Linked DNA regions of Homo sapiens: region 2 is linked to region 1. The links are contacts of gene promoters, found by promoter capture Hi-C in blood cells and fetal thymus (Javierre and others, 2016). All regions are on one chromosome and are shown on one strand. Each heading gives the region's core, a stretch centred on a gene start or on the middle of the fragment in contact. The rest is flanking DNA. Distances are from core to core; before and after follow the strand shown. Region 1 holds the start of NKX2-4 (NK2 homeobox 4). Region 2 overlaps KIZ (kizuna centrosomal protein).

Region 1 (5,657 bases), core at 2,754-5,253:
TGTTTATTGATACCAATTATCATTGGTCAGAAAACAATTTTCAGTCTAAAATATCTGAATCTCAGGAAAAGGATCACAAGATTTTTTTGAGTAAACTGCCAGGAGTTTGTATTTTGTGAAGAAAATATGAAAGGATTACTGTGTCACATAGAAATAACAAAGCCTTATAAATGCAAGTGTAAAATTACTGTAAGACATTTAAAATAATTGAAATGAACACTATTGGAAAAAGGCTTATAAAGGGACTAAAAAGAAATGAGAACCAGATCTCAGAAACTGATGAATTTAGCAAAAAAAAGTAAAATAATTCAAATAAACTTTGTGTTTCATCTCTATGGCAGTTTTATTTTCCTCTTTATAACCTCAAATTTTGCTGCAAAATACTAGTATCCTTAAGATGTTTCTTTATTCCTTCCCAACTGCAAAGACAATATTTTAAGGCTACTTCCACAACATAAAACTTATTAATCAAATTGTTGCACAACTAGTTTAAACTAATTGCAAATGTAGCAAGTGTCTCAGTTCTAAAAGGCACTTACGTTTTTGGGTATCAAGCAGAAAGTTATATTTTCAAACAGTCTTGATGAGGAAATACAAGACCCACTGAAAACCTATTCACCACCTAGATAAACAATATTTCCCTCTAAGTACTGGCTGGACCCCCACTTCAAAGTGGGTATGTCAGAAGTTTCTCAACTCCTCTCAGGTCCCTTTCGCTGAGCTTCTGTCTGCCAAGAGCAAATCCAAACTGCAGAAGGCTCTTTCCTTAGAATTTTTTTGCTAAATATTTTTGGCACTAAGGCTATCTAACACATCAGAGATTTTCAACAAATACCACATTTTTGCCAGAAAGCCAGGAGTGTTTTGTCTAGAGAAATCTTGTCTTTTTGTCTAGAAAAAATTTCTGTATCTGCCACAGCCTATCTTCGTCTGTTTTCAATGTTGCAATGTGTGAAACTATAAAAACCTAAACTATGAAAAAGGCAAGGTACCAAATCACATAGAGCATGCTATCTTTTGTGTGTAAAATGGTAGTATGCTTCTAGATGGACAGGCCATTCCAAAAGAAACAGGTAACACCAAATTCCTCTGAGGCGAAGAACTAGGAGCCTTGAAGGATAGGAGAGTGAGAACCAATTCTTTTCACTGTATTCCCTTAGGCAGTATTTGCATTTTATTTTATTTTTTAATTTTATTATTTTGCTGGGTGCCAGCATTGTTTTTTAAGGAAAACAATGAGAAAACACTCCTGAGAAATACATTTCCTGTGAAATGCAGTTTAGCCAATAATATTTGAGAATCTACTAAGTATAAATTTCCACACATAATTTAGGTACACGATAATCTGATGAAATGAATACAAAGCTTCAATGGAATATCAATTGGGTTATATTGTGTCTATATATAAATGTACATATACATCCTTCAGACTATATCAATTTTCAGAATCATCCACACGCATCCAAATAGTGTTTCCGGCATGAAGATATGTAATTTCTAGAATGAGGTACAAACAATTGACAGGAAGAATTGTCAAAGACTGTAGATTTTTCTTTCCCAGAACTGTTTACCTACAGTGATGGAATACTATTTGGCTTATCAAGTTCCTAAGCAGTCAGAAAGTGACTCTCTGCAGAGAACCTTCAGATGTGATAAAGTGCTTTTAATTTAAAGATGGAAGCATTCCAGATGTATATGCACTTATAACAGGACCCAATGCAGTTGAAAAACAAAATAAGCAAAAATTGTAGTACAACCACTTGATGTTAACTGCTATGTCAAAGTTCTACAAAGAAAATTACATGAGATGAAATTTATAGCCTGAAAACAGAGTAATAATCATCTGGAAAAAATTAAAATTGTAAACACTTTTCAACTTGGACAACTAATCAATATGGAGATTATGATAATGCGTTTCATATTTGAAATACGTTTGAACTTGAAAAATAAAATATAATGGGCCACAAATAACTTTTATATTCACAGATGTCATAACACAACTATTTTTTACTTACCCTGTTGTCTCTGAGAAACATTTGAAATGACTATTATTTTATTTAAGCTAATACATACAAGTAAACAATACAATTTAAACTAAACCGGAAACGTAAAATTCAAACTGTAGTTTTCAGAAGGATCCCAGCAAGTGTTTAAATACATACATAAGTGCTTCTTTGTGTATCATTAGTTTGTTTTTCTTAAGTAGGTAATTCCAGTGCAGGTGAGGATGAAGACCTAGCCGATGTGTTTCAAGTTCATAAAAGACCTGTAAAAGTAGCATCGTGTTAAAACTGTAGCAATATTAATCTTGCTAAGTCAATACTGATGTTTGTAAACAATTCCTGTAACCTTGCATTTTATTTTTACAGTATATTAAAACATTACTCTTAACATTCGTCTGTCACTTCCTTCCCACAGGTGACCTATGGCTTTTTCCCCCCTAGAAAGGGCAGATTCTTTGCAAAACCATACTGAGTTGAACAAAACAATTATTAAAATCCTAAGAACAAAACCATGGAGAACATTTCCACCAAAGGGCTAAAACCAAACAGAAAAAGGAATATGTAACACTGTTCTTGCCTTCAAGACATGTACTGTCAGGTTAAACTTAAATCGATTCCACACACCCTTTTCTGGAAAAAAAATAAAACAAAATATTGCTTAAGAAAGCACTCTCCTTGTTTTTCTTTCTCCTGCTCCAGTTTCCAGGAAAACTTAAAAGTGTTATCTTTGTTTTCTCGTTATCATTATTATTGCTGCAAGATTGTTTTCAAAATTTAATCAATATGCTTTGCACACTGCTTTTGTCTTATGCTTTGTCTTGTTCAGTATTTAGTAGAGAGTTCATAATGTCTAAGTATTCGGGTAAAACTGCAAGTCAAAGGATGACAAAGTTTTAAAAATCTGTTTATCTATGGTTTTGTATTTTTCCAAAGAAACTACAATTTTCACCTGATTTCTGCATCCATTTTCATATCGCTTGAACAGGTTATATTTTTCCAACAACAACAAAAAGACCCGTTGCGAACAACTAGAAATATTTGGAAGTTTTGATATTTTGTCTTTCTCTTCTTTTTGATCACGGTAGTGATGGGAGAATAAACTTAAGTCAGAGATATTTACTGAGAGAAAGAGAGTAAGAACACACACAAAGGGAAAGAAAGCAGAAAAAACTTTACAAGTGCAAACTCAGTAGGAAACATTTTAGGAAATAAAAATGTTCCCCCTCTTTCCCTTGTTCAATTTCCATCCCCACAGAGGAAAAACAGAATACTTACAAGTTAGCATCTGCGTATTTATCAGTGTATGTGTGTTTTCTCTCTTCTCTGGGCTTGGATACTTTGAGCTAATTTGGAAGTGCCCGTTTGGTTGCCCACAAAATGATGCTTAAGGGTCTAAAAACGCATAAATTAGGGAGCCCTACAATGGCAAAGGACGGTCATTGTACCTCCTCTCTTTATGCGCTCTTACGGTGGGACCCAAGAGCCTTTTTTTTTTTTTTTAACACTTTAGGTGATGGAGCGAATGAGGGGCTGATAACTGGAGAGGACGAAGCAAGCCCCCGCAACACCCTCCCCCCAAACTTAGCAGCACGTTCCCCATTCCGCAATTATACCGGACTTTGGTGCGAAGTCACTTTAGAAAACTGGGATCTGGAAGGGGCCAGGCGCGGAGTCCATGTCTAGCCTCGACGCCAGCCTCCGAGTTTCTATTTCTGGTGCTCGAGGGCTGGGGTAACGGCCGCGGATGGAGGAGCGAAGGATGGGAAAAGCAAAGGATGGGAAAAGCAAAGATGGGAAAAGCAACGGGGAGTGATCTTTCCAAGAAACACCCAACTGCCCCTTTTACCTTTTTTTGCCTCCATTATGGGGCGGGGGTTGGGGGGGCGAGAGAAAAAGATGTCAATGACCATTGTTTGCTCGTTTGGGATGTTGCTCCGCCCCCCGAGTCTGTCGTAAACCTGGCGCCGGACTAAAATAAACCCCAGATCCCGCAGCCCGGGGGGCTCGCCGAGCCGCCGACTCCTCGTCACAGGCTCAGCTGCCGCGGCCGAGGTGGCGGCGACGAGCGGCCGCCGCGTCCTGCCGGCGCGCGCCCCAGGCCCCCCTACCTGGCTGCCCGCCGAGCCATGTCGTTGAGCCCAAAGCACACGACGCCCTTCTCCGTGTCCGACATCCTGAGCCCCATCGAGGAGACCTACAAGAAGTTCAGCGGCGCCATGGACGGCGCGCCACCCGGCCTGGGGGCGCCCCTGGGGGCCGCGGCCGCCTACCGCGCGCCGCCACCTGGGCCCTCCTCGCAGGCGGCGACCGTGGCGGGCATGCAGCCTTCTCACGCCATGGCGGGTCACAACGCGGCGGCCGCGGCGGCGGCGGCAGCAGCTGCGGCGGCGGCGGCCGCCACCTACCACATGCCGCCCGGCGTCTCGCAGTTCCCGCACGGCGCCATGGGCAGCTACTGCAACGGCGGCCTGGGCAACATGGGCGAGCTGCCCGCCTACACGGACGGCATGCGGGGCGGCGCGGCCACCGGCTGGTACGGCGCCAACCCGGACCCACGCTACTCGTCAAGTGAGAGGGGCCAGGAGCGCGGGGCTGCGGGCGGCTCAGGCGTTTCCCGCCACAGCCGAGGGGCGCGGGGGCGCGGGACGGGGTGCGCGCGGCTTAGGAGGTCCTGGGGCCGAGCGGGCGCGCGGGGCGTCCTGGGACGCGGCCCGGGACGCGCGGGGTTTCTGGGGACCCTGGGCGCGCGGGGGGTCCTGGGACCTGACCGGGAACGCGCGCGGCGTCCTGGGACCCGTTGAGGGCGTGGTGCTCTGGGACCCGCCGAGGGCGCGCGGGGCGTGCTGGGGCCGGAGGCCGCGGCGGTCAGGGGGTCTTGGGATTCAGCGAGGGCCCGGCGGCGTCGCGGCCGCGGCGTGAAGAGAGCGGCGGCTGGACCGGCTCCCGGCGGGCCTGGAGCTCACTCGCCTTCCCCCTTGGGACTCTTCCCCAGTCTCCAGGTTCATGGGGCCGTCGGCGGGCGTGAATGTGGCCGGCATGGGGTCGCTGACCGGCATCGCGGACGCCGCCAAGTCGCTGGGCCCGCTGCACGCGGCGGCGGCGGCAGCCGCTCCGCGAAGGAAGCGCCGCGTGCTCTTCTCGCAGGCGCAGGTCTACGAGCTGGAGCGGCGCTTCAAGCAGCAGAAGTACCTGTCGGCGCCCGAGCGCGAGCACCTGGCCAGCATGATCCACCTGACGCCCACGCAGGTCAAGATCTGGTTCCAGAACCACCGGTACAAGATGAAACGGCAGGCCAAGGACAAGGCGGCGCAGCAGCTGCAGCAGGAGGGCGGCCTGGGCCCGCCGCCGCCTCCGCCGCCGTCCCCGCGCCGCGTGGCGGTGCCTGTGCTGGTCAAGGACGGCAAGCCGTGCCAGAACGGCGCCAGCACGCCCACCCCCGGCCAGGCCGGTCCGCAGCCGCCGGCCCCGACGCCAGCACCTGAGCTGGAGGAGCTGTCGCCCAGCCCACCCGCGCTGCACGGCCCGGGGGGCGGCCTGGCGGCCCTGGACGCGGCCGCCGGGGAGTACAGCGGCGGCGTCCTGGGCGCCAACCTGCTCTATGGCAGGACGTGGTGACAGCGAGGGCGCCCCGGGGCTAGGTCCTGGTGCACCCGA
Region 2 (5,978 bases), core at 1,155-3,654, 150 kb after region 1:
ATTTTAAACCAGAGCCATTTGAGATAAATAGAAAGTAACTAAAAAGAAAAAAGAAAGGTTAAATTGTAGCTGGAAAATTTTGCTTGCTACTAGTGTGGGGTCCTAGGCCTACTCTATTGCTACAAAGTAAGAAAATGGTTAGCAAAGTTTTAAAGACTAGCAGCAAACCTAGGCTTTCTTCTGGACTATCATCAGTGCAGCATGTGATCTGTAGGTAAAAGATGTTAAGATGTAGGACTCTGTATACCCCATCAGCATTGCTGACAAATAGCAAGTTAGTGCCCTGGTTGAAGGCCTGTTTTGTTTTCTTAGTGGGTATCAATCTTTTAAGCCTGGTAACATTGAGATTAAAAATAGAAACGTTTAAGAGAATGAAAAAGCATATGTGCACAGAAAAAGTGTGAAAGGGTATCACCCAAGTGTCAATAACATTTATTGATGGAGGTTAGTTTATGTGGAATAATTTTAGATTTGTTGCAAAGATAATGCAGAGTTCTTATATACCCCTAGCCCAGTTTCAGTTGCCCTTAATATTATCATCTTACATTGCTGTGGCACATTTGTCAAAACTAAGAAACCAACATGGTACATTAATATTAAACTCCAGACTTTACTCACATTTCACCAGATTTTCCGTGAATGTCCTTTTTTTGGTTCGAGGATCCCACCAGGGCCCCACAATGCATTTTAGTTGTCATGTCTCTTTCTCCTCTGGTCTGTGAAAGTTTCTTAGTCTTTCCTTGGTTTTCATGACACTGTCTGTTTTGAGGAGTAATGGCTGGGTGTTTTGTCAAATGTCCCAAGGTTATCTGATATTTTTCATGATTAAGCTGTGGTTAAGATTTTTCAGAAAGAACACTATAGAGGAGAAGTGCCCGTCTCCCGGCAGCATGTCAGGGTTCCAGATATCCACACGAGTCATGACTCATGGGTGTTAACCTTCATCACGTAAGGTGGTGTCAGGCAGGTTTCTCCACTGTACCATTACTATTTCCCCCTTTCCATCTCTATTCTGTGGAAGTGAGTCACTAAGTCCAGCCCACATTAGAAATGGGGGGAGGAGGGAGAATTCAGTTCTACCTCTTGGGTCAGATGGTTGGAGGAACCCAGTTCATTTGCTACTTTCCAGTGGAGATACATACAAATACCCAGGGAAATGCTCCAGATGCTGTGCCTGCTTTCCAGAAACCACAGAGGGCTTCCCCGCAGGCTGTGGTTTCTGGAGGTTTTCCTGTCAACAGACTCCCGTTTATTGACTACCACAGCTCAGTTCTAAAAATGTCCCCCAATCCCTGCCCCAAGGTGTGCAACTTGTTCCTCACCTTCTGCAACTGTAATTGTTACCACTTCATTTAGAAATAGTCTAACCACAGATACTTGAGGTTCTTAACTGGAAAAAGGAAAAAATATGTTCTTTATTCAGAATCAAATTTTCTTTAAAAAAATCTCAAAGGTGTAATGTTTATTCAGTGAGCATTTAGGAAACCTTGCAAGTCTCACCACTCCAAAATTAAATTACACGTGGCCTAATCAGAATATACATAAATAGCTGGGCGTGGTGGCTCATGCCTGTAATTCCAGCATTTTGGGACGCAGAGGCGGGCAGATCACTTGAGGTCAGGAGTTCGAGAATAGCTTGGCCAACATGGTGAAACCCTCTCTACTAAAAATATATAAATTAGGCATGGTGGCGCATGCCTGTGATCCCAGCTACTCGGGAGGCTGAGGCGGGAGAATCACTTGGGAGGTGGAGGTTGCAGTGAGCTGAGACCCTGCCACTGCACTCCAGCCTGGGCCACTGAGTGAGACTCTGTCTCAAAAAAAAAAAAAAAAAAAAAAGAGTATACGTAAATGGAAGAATAGTATATTGGTCAGGATAGACCAGAATTTTCCTGTGGTAACAACCTGCCAATTCCAGTGGTGCAAACATGATTAGCAGGGGAGGTCTGCTCTTCCTAGTCACTGATGCAGCCAGGCTGATGGAGGCTCCACTTGTCCCATGCTGCCATGGCTGCTGATGCAGGAAAGAGGAGAGAATCACACATAGCACTAAAGCTTCTAACCAAAAGTGGCATTGGTTACTTGTGTTCACATTGCATTGGCCAATGCAAGCCACATTTTTCCATTTAACTTCAATCCTTGCCAGGCACGCTTCTCTTTGTCTTCTTAGTGTCTACTGACAAGTTAGTATCTATATTGCTCTTCACTTAGCTGCCATATTTATGTATCACTTTTGACCAAGTTTTCTAAAATGAGAAGTTTTGATGAATAATGTCCTTTTTGACTCTAAAATTCAAAGACCATGTGATCTCTAAAAGCTTTTCCAGTCCTAAAATAGCGTGATTCTAAATCTTTCCATCGTGTGCTTTGAGCCATAAAGTACCCCCTTTATTTATGTGGAGAATTACCATTAGAGTCAACTCCCATTATTTAATAATTGTGGATAGGGAAGAGAGAATATAGAAAAATAACGCTGTAGTATAAAGCTTAAAAGTTTTAAAAACCAAAGAATGAAATATTTTATTAGAACAACTAAGCCAGAACAACATAATGAAGAAAAACAAAAAACAAAACAAAACAAACAACAACAACAAAAAACCAAACAGCCAACATTCCTTGCCTCCCATCAAATGGATAAAAACATGGATTTCAGAGTTGGATTTATTTCCTCATAGTAGATAGCTGTCTTTCTAGAACAGTGATTCCCACAGGAATCACTAAAAATGCAGATTCCTAGTCTCTACATCAGCTTTGAGTTGGTTTCTATGCTGAGCAAGCAAAGTGTCTGGGTTATAATAGGGTGCTCAATAAATAGCAGCTATTTTATTATTAGCAAATTAATAATACCCAAGTTATACCTTTTTAAGAAGAAAGAAAAAGGAAACCCATGGCAGGATTTTTCTTAGTTGCCAAGGGCAATATCAAGACACCTGCTGCAGAAACTCAGGTGTGAAGGCTCAGATGGGGATGGTGATGATGGCAGGGAAGAGATAGGAAAGGCCTTGGTAATTTGAGTGGAAAGAAGGGAGAATAAAGGAGTGAATCAAAGACATCTCCCAAGTTCTTGAGTAGGTAAGTGACAAGCAGGAGGTGATTTAAAAACAAAATACACACAATGCTTTAAAAATCATTTCAATTTCAGAGATTCTGAGGGCTCAAAGGAAGCCAGAGTAGTCACATGACCCACCATGAGTCCCAGGCTCCTGAGTTGCACAATTAACTTCTGACATTGACTAAAGTGACCATTTAAAAGTGAGAAAGTGTTGCACCAAGAGTTGCCTGTAGTCACTACACCCCAAGATGTATGAATTACCAATTTCCTTTTTCTAAACAGTATTGACATGTAATTTACAGAGCATATAATTCACCTATTTAAAGTGTACACTTCAATGGTTTTCAGTGTATCCACAGAATTATACAATCATCAGCACAATGAATTTTAGGACATTTTCATTATCCCTGCCAAAATCCCTCATATCAGTAGTCACTCCTCTCCCGACCCCAGGCCTAGACAACTACTCATTTGTCTATGGATTTTCCTGTCCTAGACACTGCACAGAAATGAATCTGACATTATGTGGTCTTTTGTGAGTGACTTCTTTCACTTAGAATAATGTTTTCAAGGTTCACCCATGTTGTAGCATGGATTAGTACTCCATGCCTTTTTATTGAGGAATGATATTCTACTGTATGGATATTCTGTTTATCCATTTATAAGTGATGGACATTTGGGTTGTTTCTACTCTTTGGCTCTTATGAATAATTCTTCTATAAATATTCCTGTACAAGTTTTTGTGTGGATATGTTTTTGTTTCTCTTGGAGTAGAATCATTAGGTCATAATCCCTCTATGTTTAACCTTTTCAGGAACTACTAGAGTGTTTATCAAAGCTGCTGCACCATTTCACATCCCTGCCAGCGATTTCTCCACCTCCTCACTACTTCTGTTACCTGACTTTTTGATTCCAGTCATGCTAGAGGGCATGAAGGGGTACCTCACTGTGGTTTTGATTTGCATTTCCTTGAAGACCAATGATGCCATGCATCTTATTGGCCATTTGTATATCTTCTTTGGAGAAATATCTATTCAGATCCTTTGCCCATTTTCAAAATCGGGGTTTTTTAAATTATTGAGTCATAAGAGTTATTTATGTATTTCTGGATACAAGTCCATTTTTAGATGTATAATTTGCAAATACTTTCCTCATTCTATAGATTGTCTTTTCACTCTTTTTTTTTTTTTTTGAAATGGGAGTCTCACTCTGTCACCCAGGCTGGAGTGCAGTGGTGCTCTCTTGGCTCACTGCAACCTCCGCCTCCTGGGTTCAAGTGATTCTCCTGCCTCAGACTCCTGAGTTGCTGGGACTACAGGTGCGTGCCACCACGCCTGGCTTTATATATTTTTAGTACAGATGGGGTTTCACCATGTTGGCCAAGCTGGTCTCGAACTCCTGATCTCAAATGATCCACCCACCTTGACCACCCAAAGTGCTGGGATTACAGGCATGAGCCACTGCACCTGGCCTTAACTTTCCTGGTGGTATCTTTTGCAACCACATCTAAGGCTTTGCGGTCATATCTAAGAAACTGTTGCCTAATCCAAGGTGAGAGAAACTTACACCTATGTTTACTTTTTTTTGAGACCAAGTCTCGTTCTTGTCGCCCAGGTTGGAGTGCAATGGTGCAATCTTGACTCACCACAACCTCCGTCTCCTGGGTTCGCCCAGGTTGGAGTGCAATGGTGCAATCTTGGCTCACTACAACCTCCGTCTCCCAGGTTCAACCAATTCTCCTGCCTCAGCCTCTCAAGTAGCTGGAATTACAGGTGCCTGCCACCATGCCTGGCTAATTTTTGTATTTTTAGTAGAGACAGCATTTCACCACGTTGGCCAGGCTGGTCTCAAACTCCTGACCTCAGGCAATCTGCCTGCCTCAGCCTCCCAAAGTGCTGGGATTACAGGCATGAGCCACCATGCCTGGCCACCTATGTTTACTTCTAACACAGTTTTGTAGTTTTAGCTCTTACATTTAGGTTCTTGATCCATTTTGGTTAATTTTTGTATACAGTGTGAGGTAGGGATCCAAGATCATTCTTTGGCCATGTGGCTATCCATTTGTCCCAGCATCATTTGTTGAAATGGCTATTCTTTATCCCATTGAGTAGCAGAAATTGTTACCCTTGTCAAAAATTAATTGACTAAATGTGACAGTGTTTTTGTATTCTCAATTCTAGATACATATGAATCAACAGAGTCAATATTCCATTGATTTCTGTTTATCTAGTACCACAGTATCTCAATTACTGTAGCTTTTCAGTAAGTTTTGAAATAAGGAAATGTGAGAAATCTAACTCTATTTTTTTTTTTTTTTTTTTTTTTTTTGAGAAGGAGTCTTGCTCTGTCACCCAGGATGGAGTGCTGTGGCGTGATCTCGGCTCATTGCAACCTCTGCCTCCCAGGTTCAGGCAATTCTCCTGCCTCAGCCTCCAGAGCAGCTGTGATTATAGGTGCATGCTACCACGCCCAGCTAATTTTTGTATTTTTAGTAGAGATGGGGTTTCACCATGTTGGCCAGGCTGGTCTTGAACTCCTGACCTCAAGTGATCCACCCGCCTCGGCCTCCCAACTGTATTTCTTTTGCAAGATTGTTTTGGCTATTCTGGGCCTCTTGAATTTCCATATGAATTTAAGATCAGCTGGCTAATTTCTAACATAGAAACCACCTTGAATTTTGATGGGCATTGCATTCATCACTTTGCTTCATGATGAACTTAAAAATGAATATGCAAGTTCATATTTATGTCATAAAATTTCACTTGAATAGCAATGTAGTCCTAAGTTTTCCCATAAAACAGTGAGAAAACTTAAAAGAACATATTTATTTTGGACATCACATATTAACACAGGATTTTAGTTTGTTTAAAGACTTTATTTGAAACCAATGTCACAGCACGTTAGTCATAAAAATCATCAGAATCAT

Evidence for each region. The method cuts DNA at HindIII sites, captures the fragments that hold promoters and counts their contacts. A CHiCAGO score of 5 or more calls a contact.
Region 2: a contact is called between a fragment that was not itself captured here and the fragment with the promoter of NKX2-4 in region 1, in 3 of 17 cell types (activated CD4 T cells, megakaryocytes and total CD8 T cells). The highest score is 6.3, in activated CD4 T cells.

Annotation. Positions count from the first base shown.
Region 1 is chr20:21,395,872-21,401,528 of GRCh38, reverse strand. NKX2-4 (NK2 homeobox 4) reads left to right here and starts at 4,003. Exons shown (of 2, transcript NM_033176.2): 1 at 4,003-4,571; 2 at 4,996-5,657. The coding sequence starts at 4,130. The coding sequence ends at 5,618. It overlaps LOC105372558 (a long non-coding RNA gene), which reads right to left and starts at 3,595. Exons shown (of 4, transcript XR_001754528.1): 1 at 2,953-3,595; 2 at 2,163-2,266. The HindIII fragment of the contact is 6,496 bases long and covers 1,368-5,657 here.
Region 2 is chr20:21,246,551-21,252,528 of GRCh38, reverse strand. It overlaps KIZ (kizuna centrosomal protein), which reads right to left. Exons shown (of 13, transcript NM_018474.6): 13 at 5,907-5,978. The coding sequence ends at 5,953. Among named protein-coding and RNA genes, the nearest start is that of KIZ-AS1, 31 kb to the right of the region's middle. The HindIII fragment of the contact is 168 bases long and covers 2,321-2,488 here.